4 separate regions of the Homo sapiens genome follow, and all the other regions are linked to region 1. Evidence: promoter capture Hi-C in 16 types of primary human blood cells and fetal thymus (Javierre and others, 2016). All regions are on one chromosome and are shown on one strand. Each heading gives the region's core, a stretch centred on a gene start or on the middle of the fragment in contact. The rest is flanking DNA. Distances are from core to core; before and after follow the strand shown.

Region 1 (2,637 bases), core at 1-2,500:
CAAAAGGGTTAAATTTTAGACACTCTTGTAGTTTGTCCCATTTAGCAATCCATTCGTTCGAACAGTAGATTAATGCAAGTACTACAAGATTAGGACGAGGCAAGCTGCCGTAATACCATCCAGTAGTCAAAATTACAATTGGAGAAGAATGACAGTCACAGGAACGCGCTATTGTTCTAAAGATGCTACGAAGCGCGCGCGATCGATCCCAGGGCTCTGTTCACGTAACTGATTTCAAAAGTCCCGCAAAAATGACGTTCCACCCACCCAGAGACCCAACCTCTAATCCTCAAAAGTAGGACGGCTCAACTGAAGACAAAAATCCTAACAATTAAAAGTAGCTAAGGCTCGCTTACCACAGGATTCTTCCCCATTCTGCGTTTAGCCGGCCTCGGCGGCCGCCGGCCCCCAAGCACCTGGCGCCCCACCCCTCCCGGCTCGGTCGCGCGCGCAGGCGCAATGCGTCATCGGGCCGCGCCGCCTGGCTAGTACCCCGCGCGCAGCGCCCTGCGGGGATGTTGCGGTGAGAGGCGTGCAGGGACCTGGATTGGCCAGTCCAGACTAGCCCTGCCAAAAAGGGGGCCTCGGAGTTGGGGGTAATGTGCCCAGGAGCAGAAATCTGGCGACCGTGGCGCTGCAATCACAGCTTTCCCGTGGTTTCCTAAGTGGTGGCGGTGATTTGTTTGCGGGAAGCGGGGCGTGACGGAAGACCTTAATTAAAGGACTCCGCAGGCGAACAGATCTCTTCTGGGCAGCTACAGACCTCTCCTCGGAGGAGTCTAGGAGAGGCCTGGCTGGAAGCCCCGGCACCCGCCGGGCCCCGGGCCTCAGATGAGTGAGGCGTCGTCGTGGCAACGCGGGCTCAGGTCCCCGCAAACTTCATGCCAGGCCTCTCTCTCCCACTCCGGGAGTTCGGTCCCGGCCTCGCCTGCGTCTCCGTCCCATTCCTGTGAACACTGGAGGGGCGGATGCGCGCACCCCACGAGCAAGGCCCTCCCTTAGTGATTCCCAGCTCGTTGGCGCCCCCCCACACACACCCACCCCCACTGCCAAGTGTAGCTGTTTACCCGCCACCTCTCGAGGCCGACGCGCCCCTCGCCGCTCACCAGGTGGCCCTCCTCCAGCCGAGCCCCCGAGTCAGTCCTCATGGTGCTCTCCCCGCGGGGCTGCCCCGGCGCAACCGCCGGCGGCCCGAGCCCAGCTCCCCGCGACGCAGCGGCCTCCGGGACCTGTGGGACGCCGGGGCTTCGTGGCGCCTGGCGAGGCAGCCGCCCCCTGAGCCAGGTCCCCGCCCGCCTCTGTCCTGCCAGGCGCTGCTGGGTTTGGGAGGAATGCGTTTACTCTCCAGGACCAACGAGTCTGTGCAGGCCTGGGTGTGTGGATGTGTATTAATATAGGCAATTCTCACATTTTCTCCGATTGCTTACCCTTCATCCCACAACTGTGTAAATCAAATTTGGAAAAACTTTTTCTCAACCTTAAAATCAAATCCAACCTCACATAAATATCACTACAAACTACCTGATTTGCATCGTTTGGTTTGGTTGGGTTTGTTTTTTTTTAAAGATAACTTTCACTTTAAGTAACAGAGAACTACAAATATTTTGAATCATGCATTCTGTTTTACAGTTAAGAAAGAAATGGGAAAGATGGAAGAATGGTGTGGATATGGAGAAGAGAATGATGCAGAAGATGAACAGATACAGGGACAGGGAAAGCGCCTGGAAATCTCAAATCTGGGGAAAGAAAGAGAAACAGCACTTTGTAATGGCATCCTAATCTTGTTACCAAACAAACGGGGCTTGTTGCCCTATACGCACAGAAGCCAATATTATGGCGCTGATTTTTTGAGAAAAGTTTTCATTGTGAGTCAGCTAACAAGGAGACAGGAGTATAGCTCTAATCTGTCTCCCTGTGTTGGCTTTAAGACAGTATTTTTATTAGAAAACGTTTAGGGGGTGGATTCTGGGATTAGTAGGTGATTGGTGGAAGGAAAGAAGCCATCTGGAAAATCCTCTGGCGTTCGCAGTTACCTCTTCATGTCCCTTCATGGGTCGCATGTGCAAATTTTGGAGGGAGTCAGTGTGAAACATGGGGAAAGATTCAAGCTGTGACGCCAGCAAGCTCATTTTGTACAGACTCCAGGTAGCCATCCGTGTTAGTACTAACCACTTTCAGCCAGTTTGCTTTGTTTTGTTTTGTTTTGTTTTTTAATCTCACAATGGAAGAAGTTTAGGCGTTTTATTTAGCAAGTTGTTTTTTATCTGCCGTCCTGCATGCTCAAGAATTTCTGTTAGTCCCTGGTTTCTTTAACTCTGAGACACGGTTTCACTCTTGTGATTTTCTATATATAGGTCTCTGGGATTAATCCATTGCCTTTTTCTAATTTAGGCCTGCATGTAGATATTGGCTGTTAAGGAAAATTAGTGTTTGTCACACCTCTCATGAGAATAATTTTTTCCTTGTAGGCCGATTTGTAAATAGTGAAGGCAGTGCAGTTTCTTGTAGGTTTTGATTTTAGATGTGAAATGTGTACATTAAACCTTTCTTGCTGAGTTAGTCAAGTAAGCACTTTTTGTAAAAGATGTTTTCATAAAACACGTTTCATAGAGTACAGTTTCTAAAGTTAACTATTGC
Region 2 (2,637 bases), core at 40-2,539, 420 kb before region 1:
TTTTTGAGACGGAGTCTTGCTATGTTGCCCAGGCTGGAGTGCAGTGGCTCGATCTTGGCTCACTGCAAGCTCTGCCTCCCAGGTTCATGCCATTCTCCTGCCTCAGCCTCCCGAGTAGCTGGGACTATGGGCGCCCGCTACCACGCCCAGCTAATTTTTTATATTTTTAGTAGAGACAGGGTTTCACCATGTTAGCCAGGATGGTCTCAATCTCCTGACCTCGTGATCCGCCCGCCTTGGCCTTCCAAAGTGCTGGGATTACAAGCGTGAGCCACCGTGCCTGGCCAAAAAAAAATGGAACTCTTAATACATTAGAAAAAAAATGAAATCCCTTTTAAAAAGCACTAGAGGAAATTCTGTGTTTAAAGATTTACTTATTTGGCAATGCAAACAACTGTTTATTTCCTAACATAACTTTTGCAAATCTGAATTTTTATGAAAAGATTTTTAAATTAAAAATTTTAAATTGTACTAATTTTTACTTTTTAAGTAATTTTGAGTAGGTAATATTTTTATAAAGATATTTGTATGGTTTGAAGATAAGAAAATTAAAGGTGTTCAAGAAGAGTTTTGCCCCCAGTTCTGTCCACTGTATACCCAGTCCTCCCCACTTCTGCATACATATTTCAGACAGGTATTTCTTGGAAGAAAGAACATATGCTGTGAAACTTACATGTCTCAGTAGGTCTCATTTTAAGTGATTCTGTAAAATGCCTGGGAAATACTGGTGAAATTCTAGAATGGAAATAACTTTGTGAGATTTTGAGCTGAGTACTGGTAAATAGTAGAAATGGACTTACTAATAAATAAGGGAATTTTATTTGATAACTTTTTTCTGATTACATAGTAATGTATGTTCATTATGGAATATTTGGGAAATACAAAAACACACCAAGAAAAAAGTATATTTATTTATAATTCTATTTTGCTATGTATTTTCCCATTATTCACTCTGTGTTTGTCACAGATTTTTCCCCACCCTTTTTCAATGAGTGTATCCTCCATGTCCCCCCAATCATGCATCCAGTAAACTTTGTCATTACTACCATCTGTACTTTCACTCACGTTTCAATTCCAAGCATGTCCCTCTCTGACAACCACCTCCCATCATTCCATCTTGCTTCTTCTAGGACCTTCCCTTCAAGGATCTTCAGTGCCACCAGGGCTTCCAGTTAGGTTGACTGACCCTATCTATTGTCTTCCCGATGTCAGCACCGCCCCTCACTCCCTCTTCATTCAGCTTAGAGTCCATGTGTCTTTGTTAAAGTCTCCTGTACCCACCAACACCCTTGCCTTTCTGTCAGTTCCACTGAGGTGGTAGAATCCCAACTCTGGTTAATCCTATAAATCCTTGTCCTCCAAATTTGTACTGGAATTCCAGGATGTGGCTGGGGTAAAAACCTTCCATGTTGCAGACAGGTCTCGTTTCAAACCAATGACCACAAACCTCCAATGGGCTTTCAGGGGTTTCGGCAATGCTGTGACATTTCCCTGGTTATATCACCCTTTTGCACTCTCGGTCTGTTTTACTAATCATCGAATTCTCTATGATCTCAACCTAAAAGGTTAGAGATATTTCCTGAGAAGCCCCACCTTTTCTCTTGATAACCCACTATGGAGCTGTCATTTGTGAATTTAAGAAGAAACACTTGCCTCTTGACTATTTTAAAACATCAAAAACAACATTTAAAAATTGAAGGATGAGGCCGGGGTGTGGTGGCTCGCGCCTGTAATCCCAGAACTTTGGGAGGCCGAGGCAGGCGGATCACCTGAGGTCAGGAGTTCAAGACCAGCCTGGCCAACTTGGTGAAACCTGTCTGTACTAAAAAAAATTAGCTGGGCATGGTGGCGCACACCTGTGATCCTAGCTACATGGGAGGCTGGGGCATGAGAATTGCTTGACTCTGGCAGGTGGAGGTTGCAGTGAGCCAAGATCATGCCACTGCACTCCAGCCTGGGTGATAGAGTGAGACTCTGTCTCAAAACAAAAACAAAAACAAAACCTGAGGGATGAGCCACAAACTGGGAAATGATATCTGCCACGTTGTATAACTGATAAAGGAGATATATGTACATATACTATATATATAATCTTCTATAAATCCATAAAATATTAAACAATCCAACCTAGATGGGCAAAAATATAAACTAGTTCAAAGATGAGCAAAAAATATGAACCAGTAATTAAAAGGAAATACCAATGAGCAATAAATATATGAAAACATAACCATTCTCTTTGGTCATCAGAGAATTTGAAAAATACAGCCACAGTGAGATAGCATTTTATGTCCATCATATTATCAACATTTAAAACTCTGTCAGTACCAAGTGTGGGTGAAGATACAGAGCAAAGGGAACTCTATTACATCGATCTAGGAAATGTAAATTGACACAATCATTTTAGAGAGCAATTTGCAATATTTATAAATGTTGGAAATTTGCACACAGTAAAATCTAGCAATTCCATTTTTGGATCTATGTCCCAAAATAAACTTAAAAACATTGTTTTGTAGAGACAGGGTCTTGTTATGTTGTGCAGGAAGGTCTTGAACTCCTGGCCTCAAGCAATCTTCCTGCCTCAGCCTCCCAAAGTATTGAAATTATAGGCGTGAGCCACCACGCCTGGCCCCAAAAGAA
Region 3 (2,637 bases), core at 1-2,500, 380 kb before region 1:
TTACTTGCCACCGACAGGGGTTATTATTACTAAATGGAGTCAGTATAAATGCTTTCCAATAAAGCATGTCCAGCGCTCGGGCTTTAGTTTGCACGTCCATGAATTGTCTGCCACATCCCTCTTCTGAATGGTTGGAAATTGGGCATCTGTTCCTTTAAACAGGAAACATTTCTTGTTCGAGTGAGTCATCTCTGTTCTGCTTTAGGAGTAAAGTTTACCCTGCAGTTCCTTCTGTGGTGAAGTTTTCTCTTTCTCTCGGAGACCAGATTCTGCCTTTCTGCTGGAGGGAAGTGTTTTCACAGGTTCTCCTCCTTTTATCTTTTGTGTTTTTTTTCAAGCCCTGCTGAATTTGCTAGTCAACTCAACAGGAAGTGAGGCCATGGAGGGAGGCAGAAGAGCCAGGGTGGTTATTGAAAGTAAAAGAAACTTCTTCCTGGGAGCCTTTCCCACCCCCTTCCCTGCTGAGCACGTGGAGTTAGGCAGGTTAGGGGACTCGGAGACTGCGATGGTGCCAGGAAAGGGTGGAGCGGGTGAGTGCCTGTTGCCAAGGTGGCCTCTTCAACAGGAAACCACAATATTTTTGTTTCTTGACTTGCTCTAGAAACAGGGCTGTGGGGGTGGGGAAGCAACTTGGATCTGCCCTTCTGAGGACACCTCTGGGTGCTGCCTGGCCCAGGTCTCCTGTGTGGTTTCTCTCTGAGCCGTTGCCTCTGACTTTGCTACTTTTTCACTCTGAGCAGTCTCCAGTTCCTCTGCTACCTTTTTGTCCTCCAAGCTTCCCTGCCGCCTCGAATGCAGATACACGGTCTCCCTCCTGTGGACCCGTTTGGAGAGTCCAGAAGACTTTATCAATCCACTTTTTTTTCTTTTTCATTTGGCCCTGGGGCCGACGGTTAAGTACTTTATTCTGTCATTCTGTCGAATCACGATGCCCTGAGGTGCACAGCCCCTTCCCCCTCTTCCGTGTCTGAAGGGTTTCCTTTTATCTCTCCACCCCCACCCTTGCCCTCCTGCCCTCTCTCTTGTTCCCCAAAGACAGTTCTCTAATGTTTTGATGTGGATTCGTGAATTTATCTGTATCTTTGCAAAATGTATTTTTCTTTTGTATGTGTACACTGTTTTTTAACTATGCGATCTCAGGCAAGTAATTCCTCTGTGCCTCTGTTATCTCATCATTAAATGATTAATAATGCCTCCAGAGGTGACTGTGAGGCTTGAAGGAGATAATACGCATACATCACTTACTACACGAGTTAGCAATTATTATTGCATATTAATACTATTGGTATTTTATTTTGCTCATTCTGTTTCTATTTCTTTTTTATTTATTTATTTTTTGAGACAAAGTCTTGCTCTGTCACCCAGGCTGCAGTGCAGTGGTGCAATCACGGCTCACTGCAGCCTCAACATCCTGGGATCAAGCAATTTTCCCATCTCAGCCTTCAGATTAGCTGGGACCACAGGCGCGTGCTACCACACCTGGCTAATTAAAAAATTTTTCTTCATAGAGATGGTGTCTCATTTTGTTGCCCAGGCTGGTCTCAAACTCCTATGCTCAAGGGATCCTCCCACCTTGGCCTCTCAAAGTGCTAGGATTACATGCATGAGCCACGGTGGCCATCCAGGCATTGATATTATGAGGCCATCTTGACCTAGCCCTCTCTGGTGAAGAGTCCTTTTCAGATACTTCGTTCAGTCTTCTCAGCTATGAGTCCCTACCCTCTGAAAGCTTATATTCTATTTGGGGAAAGACAAAAGGCAGTTTCAAAGAAGAGAGGTGTTTGATTTTCTTTTCCTACTTTTAATATCAGAAAACATTTCATCTAACTCTCAGTATGAAGGCAATATTTTGTTTACTGGTATATCCCTAGAGCCCAACATGGTGAGGGCCCCAGGATTTGCTTCTTTGATAAGATGGTAAACCCAGCTTTCAGCTAACTTCATGGTTTCCTCAGCTACACTCATATACAAGGATCACCTTTGGTAAGATGGACTTACCATCTTACCAAAGAGTTTTTGCATTTTAGAGTTTTTTCTTTTTAGATTTTTTTCATTTTAGAATTTTTTTATTTCAGAGTTTTTTCTTTTTAGAGGTTTTTCATTTTAGAGTTTTTTCTTTTTAGAGTTTTTTTTTTTTTTTAATTTTAGAGTATTTTAGGCTGCTGAGGGTGGAATCTGGTGACCTTGGGGCCACAGAGATGCTCCTTGGCTAAACCAGGGGCTTTAGCTCTGAAAGTTCACAGCCACCCTGAGAACCAAGATGAGAGGGCTCTGCAGTGTCCAATCTCAAGACCTCTCTGAGGTGCTCCATCAAGATTCATTGAATGAAAAAATTAAAGTCTTAATGATGAACCCAGAAAAATCTTTAAATCCTAAATATGAAATGAAAGTGTTCTTAGTTACAATCCAGTCCAACGTCCTTGTTTTGGAATGTGGAAATGAGGCCCCAAAGGTAAAATGGCCCATCCAAAGTCACAGCCAGGGGCCAGTGCTCAGGTGGCCAGGTGCCCTGCGTGCGGTCTCCTGGACCACCAGGCCTTTTTCCTGCAGCTTTAGAAGCTTTAGAAGGCACTCTGCTCACTCAGGGGCAAGTGGTAAGCGCTCTTTCCCCTCTAGTGTTTGTGACTCAGGAGTTTC
Region 4 (2,637 bases), core at 75-2,574, 260 kb before region 1:
GCATAGCGCACTTTGGAAAAAGTTGGTTTAGTTGTCACCAACTTTTCTTACAAAAAAAGTTTACATATATAAATATACAACATTCCCTAATTCCTATTGATTGCACTTCTGGCTTAACCCCTTCCAGCCTCCAAGGAATTTTTAAAAACATGCAATTATGTTTGTATTCCTTGGCTACTGTACTTATTCAGACGAAATATTCTAAAAACAAGTTTTCTTGGTTTCAATTTACTCACATTTTGCCTCTTAAAAGTAAATCCCTCCCACCCTCTACCCAGTTGTTTTTTTTTTTGGAGGTTGTATAAAAATACAAATTTAAAAAATGAACTTTTATTAATCATAAATACAAAATAATTGAGTGGTATTTGGGCTCCCAGGGGCTCAAAGGCCTGAAAACAGAAAGGAAAATAGGAGTCTCCACCTGTGATTCAATGAAAAAGATGAAACTCCTAATTTTGCTAATGCTGCGAGCATACCATTTGATGGATACATAATTTAACCAGATATTAACAGGGGAAACATATAAGCCATCTCACTATTGTCTCAGTAATAGACTGAGCTTACCCCACCAACCCCTCAGAACGGCTTTCTATAAGCAATAAAACTGCTCCTTTTCTCTTCCCATCCTTCTAACCTGGGTTCTCTCTGCTTTATGCTTACCAGAAGTAAATGTGCCAGCAAGTTCAGTATCTCTGTATGTTTTAGTATTACTGAATTTATTTGTATTCACTTTTTATGTTCAAGACAAGAAAACTCAACTGAAGGAGTATATTAAACCTTTCTTTTCTCCCTCTGAACACTCATGGCCCATTCATTTATACTTTCAATTTGCCCGACTTCCTCCATTAGGGCTCATCCCAATTTTATTTCCATTCCTCCATTCCCCCTTTCACATTCACAACCCTTGTGCAACATTCCTTTTCTCTCAAGTCAGACCAGACCACATGTTTCAGTGCATATCTATCCTTCATGTGCTAACTTGTATAAAAGGTCAGTTAACTGCTGAACCTCAGTCCTCCTTCAGGACACCCATTTTGGGTGAGGATGTGCAAACTGGGGCAGCAAAGCTACCCATTATGACTGGAAGACTCTGATTCCTCCTTAGTCCACCTAATAAACTGCTACCTGAATTTAAATAAACAGCAGAATCTGGTTTTTGAGGACCAATTTCTGCCTCCTGGCATCTTCCATTCTCTTGGGCACCAGGGTTCTTGACCACTCTGGCTATCCCCAGTCTCTTCAGCCTGTCCACTAAGTTCATCTTCAACTGGCCAACATCAGGAGGGTTCCGGGAGGGTCTCAAGCCATACATCTCCTGGAGGAATGTCTCAGCTGGTCGAGAGGCCAAAAAATTTTCAGAGAGATGCACTCGAGGCTCAAAGGGTAAAGGAGAAGGGCAAGGTGAGTGAGATGGTGAATTTGGTGGTGTGGAAGGGATAGCCAGGGATTTAGGGAGAGGCTGGAGGGGGTTCTCTGAAATTGGGCTGTGGTACACTTTGGCAGAGATGCCTCGCTCTTGTAGAAGTTTGGCCAAGCTCATGGTGCTACTGAAGGTTGTAGTGGAATCTCGTCGGTTGGTGATGGACTCACCAATGCTGAGTCTATAGGACAAGGCAGGAGAATTCACAGCCGTGTTGGATGAACTGCTACCGCTACTTCCACAGGATAATGAAGGGAACCCAGAGCTTAAAAAAAAAAAAAAAAAGTGGGAGACAGTGTTTAAGAATAAAAAGCAAGCTCCAAGCTGGCATTTAAAGAAATTATAGTAGTTATCCTTGGTAAATATAAAGTAACAGGCAACAAACACATCCGTAACTGTATGCTGTGGAACAGATCTGGGGAATGAAAATTTTGACATGATACTTCAATGATTAATTATTTGTAATTCATAACTTAGTAATTAACTTATTAAAAGATATTTCTTTTCAGTGGGATATGAAAGGTATTGCTGTACTCTTAGATAACTTTACTCTTAAATTTTAACTCTAAAATGTACATCTGTAGAAATACAGTTAAATTTTATGATAGAAGGCAAAGAAATTTGAAGATTAAGGAAAGTAATTTAGAATGTTTATTCATATATCCATTCCATAAAGTGAGATACATTGAGACAATAATCCATGGGTAAACAGTTTACCAACTTTTAAAAAAATACAATCTTTCACAATTAAACATGAAAACTCTTCTGGGAGAAGTTTCTTTCTTTTTAATCTTTTAATTTTATTTCATTGAGAAATAAAAACTTCTAATTGTTAAATTTCATTTTCTCAAGAAATGTTAATTTCAAACAATAATGGTATAAAAATATCCATAGGATGAATTTTTTCTCAACCTTGACCTGAAACATGTGTTTTTAGGAAATTAAAAATAACTAATAGCTTCGACAACTATTCAGTAATACTTCTTCAGTATTACTTCAGTATTCAGTAATACTACTGAATATACAGAAGTGAAGGTGAGCTTGTGCAGAGGACTGGCCCTGTAAATCTTGCAGTTTGGCTAACTCCGGGTATATAGCCCCAGCTGGGTTATTAGTTGTCTGCCCTAGGACCAGTCACCTCAACCTTCCATGCCTCGGTTTACTTTACACAATACATACTTGCCTTGCCTACTTTTATAATAATCAAATGAGAAAAT

The links. Contacts are between HindIII fragments. The CHiCAGO score rates a contact against its expected background, and 5 or more counts as called.
Region 2: a contact is called between a fragment that was not itself captured here and the fragment with the promoter of TMEM237 in region 1, in 1 of 17 cell types (fetal thymus). The highest score is 5.5, in fetal thymus.
Region 3: a contact is called between a fragment that was not itself captured here and the fragment with the promoter of TMEM237 in region 1, in 2 of 17 cell types (megakaryocytes and endothelial precursors). The highest score is 8.3, in megakaryocytes.
Region 4: a fragment that was not itself captured here is called in contact with the fragment with the promoter of TMEM237 in region 1 in 2 of 17 cell types (endothelial precursors and erythroblasts); the score reaches 7.0 in endothelial precursors.

Annotation. Positions count from the first base shown.
Region 1 is chr2:201,642,253-201,644,889 of GRCh38, forward strand. It overlaps TMEM237 (transmembrane protein 237), which reads right to left and starts at 1,251. Exons shown (of 13, transcript NM_001044385.3): 1 at 1,107-1,251. The coding sequence starts at 1,148. MPP4 (MAGUK p55 scaffold protein 4) reads right to left here. Exons shown (of 22, transcript NM_033066.3): 22 at 2,622-2,637. RefSeq lists silencers at 350-539, 1,110-1,369. The HindIII fragment of the contact is 8,699 bases long and covers 1-2,637 here.
Region 2 is chr2:201,223,985-201,226,621 of GRCh38, forward strand. It overlaps a transcript of CASP10 not described here. Among named protein-coding and RNA genes, the nearest start is that of CASP8, 35 kb to the right of the region's middle. The HindIII fragment of the contact is 4,030 bases long and covers 1-2,637 here.
Region 3 is chr2:201,257,853-201,260,489 of GRCh38, forward strand. It overlaps a transcript of CASP8 not described here. Among named protein-coding and RNA genes, the nearest start is that of CASP8, 1.4 kb to the right of the region's middle. RefSeq lists enhancers at 259-388, 348-492, 489-548, 569-988 and a cis regulatory region at 420. The HindIII fragment of the contact is 954 bases long and covers 774-1,727 here.
Region 4 is chr2:201,379,534-201,382,170 of GRCh38, forward strand. It overlaps TRAK2 (trafficking kinesin protein 2), which reads right to left. Exons shown (of 16, transcript NM_015049.3): 16 at 1-1,685. The coding sequence ends at 1,010. Among named protein-coding and RNA genes, the nearest start is that of FLACC1, 24 kb to the left of the region's middle. The HindIII fragment of the contact is 3,042 bases long and covers 1-2,637 here.